Linked DNA regions of Homo sapiens: region 2 is linked to region 1. Evidence: promoter capture Hi-C in human tissues and cell types (Jung and others, 2019). All regions are on one chromosome and are shown on one strand. Each heading gives the region's core, a stretch centred on a gene start or on the middle of the fragment in contact. The rest is flanking DNA. Distances are from core to core; before and after follow the strand shown.

Evidence for each region. Contacts are between HindIII fragments. The study calls those that stand out against the background at their distance.
Region 2: a contact is called between a fragment that was not itself captured here and the fragment with the promoter of CISH in region 1, in 2 of the 25 tissues and cell types used here (mesendoderm cells and small bowel).

What each region holds. Positions count from the first base shown.
Region 1 is chr3:50,609,205-50,613,083 of GRCh38, forward strand. CISH (cytokine inducible SH2 containing protein) reads right to left here and starts at 2,570. Exons shown (of 3, transcript NM_145071.4): 1 at 2,427-2,570. The coding sequence starts at 2,446. It also overlaps a transcript of MAPKAPK3 not described here. RefSeq lists enhancers at 1,529-2,089, 2,999-3,088 and a silencer at 2,439-2,918. The HindIII fragment of the contact is 7,054 bases long and covers 1-3,879 here.
Region 2 is chr3:50,539,491-50,543,414 of GRCh38, forward strand. LOC105377083 (a long non-coding RNA gene) reads right to left here and starts at 166. Exons shown (of 3, transcript XR_940833.2): 1 at 108-166. RefSeq lists an enhancer at 1-640. The HindIII fragment of the contact is 8,809 bases long and covers 1-3,924 here.

The DNA.
Region 1 (3,879 bases), core at 1,320-3,819:
ACCCATACAAGTCAGCCTATCCTGGCCTCTGCTTCTCCCAGTGGAGGGTCTGGGGTGGACAGTGGCCTCTAAAGGCACTGGCAAGTCTCACCTCCTGTCAGTATGAGCTCCCACCAAGGGCAGGGACCTAATCCACACTCCAGTTCCCACCCTGGCAAGCCAGCCCTACCAGGCTCTACGATCTTGTACAAAGCTTGCTCTTCACTGGGCTTCAGTTTCCCTTTTCCGCAATAAAGGGTCCCACCAACCCATGCACTGAGAGGTTCAGTAACACCATATTCTTGGATGGCTGGGGTTGGGGGAACTGAGCCGACCAAAATCTGAGTAGCAGCTTTCTCCTAGGGGAAGCCCACCCAGCAGGGTGATACTAGGGCTTCCTCCTTGGGAGGGCAGCAGGGACTGGCTCTACTTCCCCAGGAAGACAGCTGCTCCTCCCTCACTCCTTGCAAAATACATCTCCAAGCCTTAGTTCTGGGTCTAGTCCCTGGCTGGGCCTCAGGACACCGCCATAATGAAACCATGGCCTTGCCCTCAAGGAGAACCAGACTGGCTGGGGAAGATGACACTAAGAGTAATTATAATGCAAAGTCATAAAACTGCAGGTGTCACGGGGGAGTCAGGGTCTGCTTGCTCCTGAGCTGTGTCTTCCAGGCCAAAGGAAGGAGCTGGGGGAAGGGACCCCAGGTAGAGAGGACAGCATGGGCAAACAGCGCCAGTATTGCTTGTGAGGCAGGAAGGCGCAGGCAGGAGCTGGTGGCAGGAGCCAGACCTGACTCCTGTGTAGGTTATAGGTGACCCTCTAGGTTCTAACAAATCATGGCCCTATGACCACTCACAGTGAGAAAGGGCCACACAACTCTGGCACACCACAGCCTGACAAAAACTTTTCCACACCTACCCTGGCTGTACTGTGGGATCTTGGAAATCCCTCTTGGAGAGCTGGAGGCCAAATTTTGAGATGACCTGCTTGCTGGGGCCCAGAGCTACCTTCCCAGGAGCATGGTTGGTGGCTAGCCAGTCAGGCTGGAACCTCTGTGGGTGGCCACGTCCAGATAGCTTAGCCGGTCCTCAGATCCCACATGTAGGTGTGGGCACCTTTGGGGCTGATGTGGTAGCTGGGTGTATGAATAGCTGTGTTGATCACCACAAGCTCCTGGTGAGTGTGTACCTGGGCAGGGGTGTGTCCATGGCTGTGTCATCATCATGGTGGGGACAGTGGCTGGTGTGTTCTAGGTACATGTGTGTGCCCGCTTTGGAGCGCAGCAGTCTAAAACTTTGTTCCCTGACACCCAACAGTAGCCCTGAGCTTACAAGGGGGTGCTCACCTAGGGTAAAAAGTGAAAGAGGCTATGGGACCCCGGAATGCAGGGGGAGGCTCCTGGGGTGGAAGGCAGTGGTGGGGCAGGTATTCAGGAGTCCCAGAATGCAGACAGGAGGAAGGAACTTGCTGGAGACAGCAAGGGAGAAGTAGTCTTCCCAGCACCTCCATGTCCTCTTCCTTGGCCTCACCTTCCACCCTCCCTCACTTGGCACCAGGCCAGTTGCGATAAGCACAGCCACCCAGTCCTCCCTGAGTGCAGAACACCCATTTATACCTTCTTCCTCTCTCCTTGGAGCTTCCTGAGCTCCTGTCACATCACCATGGCCAGCATCAGACCCTTTGGTTGAAGGGGTTGCTGAGGTTCAGGACAGAGTGGATGGCCAGGAATGCTCAGCTCAGGTCAAGACTCTGTCTTATCAGCATCCCCTCTCCACTGTCCCTTACCTCAAGTCTGGGAAATTTGAAGATGAGAGGCAGGAGCCAAGGTCCTTCTCACATTGGGATCCCAGACTGGGCTGAGACAGGGTTGTGAGACGATTGTGGGGGTACCCCAAGCAGGACCAGGCCAAACCCAGGGCCTCCCGAGAGTTGCAGACCATCAGGTGCCAGCCTGAGGAAAGGCAAGGATCTGCGGCTGGCTTCCCAAGAAGAGCCTACTTGCTAGCCTGGGGCAGGAGAGGGGACACCAGGACAGAGGGGGCCAGGGGCTGGTCCAAGGTTACTAGCAGGCAGGGCAGCAGGCAGGCTAGCGTAGAGTGCTCTGGGCCCAGAAGAATATCTGGGATTGTTGGCCACATCTTGGGGGACGCCGTGCCGTTAGCATCCATCTGCTCCAATGAGAACCCAGGCTGAGCCCACCCTGTGAGTTCCTCCTTTAGCCGGCCAGCCCCCGGTTTCCCAATCCACAGTGGGAATTGAGGTAAGTGTGTGGGGGCGGGGAGTGGGAGTGTCACAGCCCCACACAGAGCCTTGCTCCTGAGGTCCGTCTGCGCTCAGTCACCTCTGGCCCGTCAAGCCCTCCCAATGCCCGGCAGCTAGCACGAAGCCCCTGTTCTCCCGTGCGCCCCTCGTGGTGGCCGGGAAGGGGGCAGAGAGCCGCGCTTACCCCTGAACGCAGAGGACCATGTCCCCGCGGCAGCGGCGACTCCGGAGTGGGGACTCGGCTGGACGGCGGCGGCTGGAGGGAACCAGTGGGCGCGGAGCGCGTGCTGGGTAGGCTCCCGGGGCGCGCGGGCGCAGGACAGGGACTGAGAGGCAGTGGCGCGGACCGCCTGCGAGGGCGAGGGGGGCGGGCCAGACGAGCGGGGCGGGGCGAGCTGCTGCCTAATCCTTTGTCTGCCGCGTTCCAGCCCTTCCCGGAAGCAGCGTCTTCCTAGAACCGCGGGCTGAGCGGTGGGGCCCGGGCGGGGTGCGCGGGCCCCGTCGCCGGGTCTGGGGCCCTGAGCAGTGAAAGGAAATACTTTGACAGATTTCCAAGAACTTTCCAGGAAAACGGGGCGGGGCCCCGCGAGCTGACCAATCGCGACGCTGAAGGTGGAGCCGAGCGGTCGGGGAGGGCCAATAGCAGCGCGTGGACCCGGGGCTGAAGCTACCCAGAGGGGCAGGTCGGAGAGATCAGTGGGGAAAGACCGGGTCGGGGAAGTTAAGGAGGGGCCCGGGCTCAGCAACCCGCGCCCAGATTGCCTTCTGGCATTCTGCGTCGTTGGGGAAGGGCCCTCTTATCTCGCGGTGGAACTCGTGGCAGGGCGGGGGGCGGAGTCCCGGGCTTGTCCTCCCTGCGAGCGGCTCCTCCAAGGAGGTCTGTCGGCGTGTGCAAGCGCCCCGTGTTGGGACGGCCGCTCCTGGACCCTAGGACTCTGTGTGTCGGGTGTCGGATTGGGTGGCATGGGGTGAGATCTGGAGCGGGACTTAGGGCAGGGCGGGGTGCAGAGGACAGTTCCAGAAATGAGTGGGTCCACTGAGGTCAAGCCGGCGGTCACCACAGCCAGAAAGATCCAGACAAGAACGTTTTCTTTGAAAGAGTTGAAGGAGAAAGCACGCCCCAACTTTTCGAATCAGGCAGACCATCCAGTCTTGGCTGGCACTGGTTTCTGGCCGGCCCTGCCAGTCAGGGGAGAAGAGACTACAGATTTGAGAAAGCAAGCAGAGACAGCCCCAGATGGCCCGGACTCTGGGTTGGTACCACCCCCACCCCCCGCCAGAAAAAAAATGCTGAGAGAGAGTCCTGCAACTCAAAACATAGGGAGATAATCTGGGAGTAGGGTGATAGAGGTTGGGGCGGGATGGCGGGGGCAGAGTAGTAACACTCGCTCTTATCTACAGGGAGTACTTGCTGCATTTGATCCTCTACAACTGGTGTTGCTCCCGTTATGCGGACAGAAGACAGCCCCAGGGAACAAATGCTAGGAAATGGCAGGGTAAGAGCTTGGTCCCAGCTCTGAATCAGAAGCCCACGCTCCTACCAGGACCCTCTCCACCTTTTTTCAGTTCACTGGATTCACTATGGAGCATCTTGAAGGACTGTAGGGTCTGTGAATCTCCTCCAAACCCTTGGGCCA
Region 2 (3,924 bases), core at 1,399-3,898, 70 kb before region 1:
GTGGGGAGGAGGAGAGGGAAAGGAGGAGGAAGGTGAAGAGAGGAGAGGAAGAGGGAGCGGAGGAGCCCGGGAGACGGGGGTGGGGAGGGGGGAGAGGACATACCAACCTGACCTGCGGGGAGGCTGGAGGGAGGGGGAGCCCGGGCCACAGGGGAGTTGACGATGGCTGCAGGAGACAGATAAGGTTGGGGAGAAAGGCGCAGTCACTGATGGGAGGGCAGGGATTAGGGGCTCAAGGGCCTGTCCTGGGCCTGTGGGTGGAAACCCAGGAAGAAGGGCGGCTGCCCTAGTGAGATGGGAGAAGGGAGGAGGAAGCTCTCGCTTCAGGGTACCGCTGTGCCCTTGTTGAGCCAGGAGAAAGGCCTCCCACACCTACCCATCTCCACTGCACAGTGAGCTGTCTAAGCAGACCCAGGCCTCTGGACCTGGGCAGGGTCAGGAGGGACAAGACAGATTCCCTGAGCTCAGGGCTCTCCTCCAATCAAAGAAGACAAGTTACAACCCATCCTCCACGAGCCTGGAATGATAACACCTCAACAGACATGCATGTCAGCTCACGGAGGCAACAGGGACTATCCCTGCCCTGCTGGAGCCTGGCCCATTGCGCACGTGTGTCCTTTGCAGCCGTGTCCTCACACGTGCTTGGCCACATGTGGTCTCTCAGATTCCCACACTCGGCTTGGTGCCTGTAGCCTCTCACCTGGGGCAGGTAAAGACAGGCCCACACCAGCCTGTGTGGCATGCTGTCATTCTCAGAGGCAGATTTTGGGGACACCCCCATTCTCCCCCTCCAGGGCAGGACAGTGGCCTCTCACGGAGGCCCATGGCCCGTGGGCCTTGGGCTTGAGACAGGCCTGAGGCTCCCCGAGCCTGCACTGGTCATGTGGCTGGGCCTGGGGAACCAAGTCCGTCCTGGCCAGAAGAATATAGCTCTGTGTGGGTAGGGGTGGAACCCTGGCCTTGTTCACCATGCTGAGCCCAGTGCCCAACACATGGTAGGCCTGCAGTGGGCAGTCGCAGATGTCTGGGGTGGATTAACCCTGATGTGTTAGAAGCTGGGTCTTCTGGGGGCTTGGAGGGAAGGGGTCGCTCCTCTAAGCCCCTGCAGACTGTGCAGGGGCTGCCTGATTTGGCCTCCTCCTGGGGAGTCCAGCTGATGAGACTGAGAGTGGAGGAAGGGCTGCCCAGTGTCAACCTCATGGAATGGAGACAGCACCTGCTGGCCGAGGGCCTGGCTGCTGGGAGCAGTTGATGGAGATAAATGATTCCTGTCTGAGGTGGAGGTCAGGGCCTGGCAAGGCAGCCTTGGGCCTGAGGGATGGCTCTGGGCTGGGCCAGGGAGTCAAGGAGACCTCTTGCAGTGGATCTTCCTGGGCAGCTGGGACCCAACTCTCCGTAGCCTATGGGGGCCATCCGCCCACCCCACCCTCCCTGACGCAGGGGCTGAGAGTATCAGCAGAGGTCGGCTGGCTCTGCCCTGTCTCAGGTTGGAAAGCTGAGCCCTGCCAGGCCCTCAATTGCACTGTGGGTCAAGCCTCCGCCAGAGCAAGGAGTGGTGGGTTTTCCCCATTTGTCAAGTGGACCAAGAAAGACCTCAGGGCAAGGACTAGGCTGCTGGAAAGGCCTGGTCCCAGACCTTGTTCATTTCTTCATTCATTCATTCCCACATCTGCCCCTGCTGTCCTTTCTGGCCTCTCCACGCAGTAAGGCCAGGCCCTCCCCTCTGCCCTGGCATTTCCTTGCCCATGCCGCTCCCCTCCTGCCACATCAGCTTCCTGCTGTTTCCCCAAGAATCTTCTGGACCTTTGCTTTTGCTGTTTTTTTCCCCTCATCTGGAACCCTTCTGTCCCAGATCCCTGCATGGCCAGCAACTCTTGACATTCAGGTCTCAGCCAGTGCTGAAGGTGCCCTCCCTCCTTGATCGCCATCAGAATCTGCCCCCTCCATTTTTATTCCCATGCAGTCCTGGTTGGTTTCCTCCAGAGCCTGAAAATGCCTTGTTTTGTTGACACACCTGTTTATTATCTATCTCCCCTTAGCACTGGGGAGCCCCAAAGAGGAGGCACCTCACCAAGCCTTGCATAGGAACCGAGGTCCCAGCTGCTTTCCCCACCCATCCATGAGTGCCTGAGTCCCCATGGTCATTCAGGTCAGCATAAGGCAGGCCCTGGTCATGGACAGGAAACAAGAGGAGTGTTTCCAGGGCAACAGGCTGCCCATCTCTGAGGGACTCCATGTAAAGGCTTATGGGTTTGGATCTAGGCTCTCAGAGGGGGTTCAGATGGCCAGGACCCAAGGACCTTGCACACCCAGAAAGCAGGTTCCTTGAGCCCTGCCTGGGCTGGCCCCTGTGGCTGGAACCCAGAGGGGGGTGCATGTAGATATTAGCAAGTCAGGGCACCTCCACCCCCAATGATGGAGACAAATGAGAGGGGTATGGAGCTGTAGTGGACTATGAGGAGGTTGGTGCAGCCTTATTGATGCAGGGGTTGTGAATGGGGACAAGATGGGGCAGAGGAGGGCACAATATGTTGGGAGAATCCATAAACCCTCCTGGACACCGCCCTCTGTGGGGAGGAGGGGAGGTGTGCTCCACAGGTGTGTGTGGGGTGGTGGGGGGGGTAGCTCTGGGGCCCAGCTCAGCTCAGCCCATGGGAGGCCAGTGCCAGAGCCTTTACCACCACCCTGGTGCTGAGCCCTGGGTGGGTAACCAGGCAGGGGCAGTGGAGGAGCCAGCCAGGTCCTGGCTCCTCTTCTCTCCCTCTACACTCCCTGCCTCCTTGGGCTCCAGGAAGGGTCCTCTCTGGTTGACATCTGAGAATTAGTGGGCCTGGTCAGTGTGGGCATCTCAGGGGGCCTAGACCCTGAGGCTCACCCTAGTAGCATCCAGTCTGTTCCTCCAGCTCAGCTACTGCCCCAGCAGCTTCTACAGGGGTGGGGCTAGGAAGGGAGCCAGGGCCACAGGCCCCTCATTCCTCTGAGATTGAAGGGGTTCCTGTGCCTGGGGGAGTGGGGGGGCATGACCCCATCTTTCCTCAACTCTTTGGAGGACCTCAGAGTCTCTTTGGAGGTTAAATCCACAGCTCCAAGGAGGGGATGGAGTGAGGCAGAGTAGGGCTTGCACTGCTGCCACCTGGTGGCTGAAAGACGTAAAGCACCTAAAACACCTGCTATTCCAGTTCCCAGAAGGAATTGGAGAAGGCAGTGGAGGGAAGGATGCTCCTGAGGGAGCAGAGGCACAGGGAGGTAGAATATGCACTCCTTGCTCCAGGTCAGCATCCTGGCCTGCAACCTTTGCCCTCACTCAGCTTGGTTCAGAGCCTCCCCAGGTGCCATCAGACATTTGCCCACCATAGCCTTCCAGAATGCTAGCAAGGCCAATCTAGCATCAGGGATGCCTGTCTGGCCTCTACTATACTAAGGGGAACAGAGGGCCCAAATGACATCCAGGGGCACACACAATGGGTCTTGGTGTATGGAAGAGAGGGAAGAGTGGGATCTGGGAGGCAGGCAGGGAGAAGGTGGAGCTGGGAGGTGGGTGCGGCCTAGCCGGGCCCTGCCTGCCCTGTCCTCGCCTTACTCACAAATGCTGCTGGTCTTCTTCTTGCAGGACCTGGATTGAGTCCCATGAGGCTCTCCTCCACACCCCATTGTCACCTACTTGTGTCATAATACACCACCCCTAGTTCCAGAGCAGGGGCAGGGGTGGGGGGAAGAGGGGAGGCTTGCTCAGGAACCCCCAGCAGAGGGCCCTCAGGAAGGAATATAGTTCCTTTCTACACCTCAAGCTCAAGATTATGGCATGGGGCCAGGCACGGTGGCTCACACCTGTAATCCCAACACTTTGGGAGACCAAGGCAGGTGGGTTGCTTAAGCCTACGGGTTGGAGACCAGCCCGGGAAACATGACAAGACCCCATCTCTC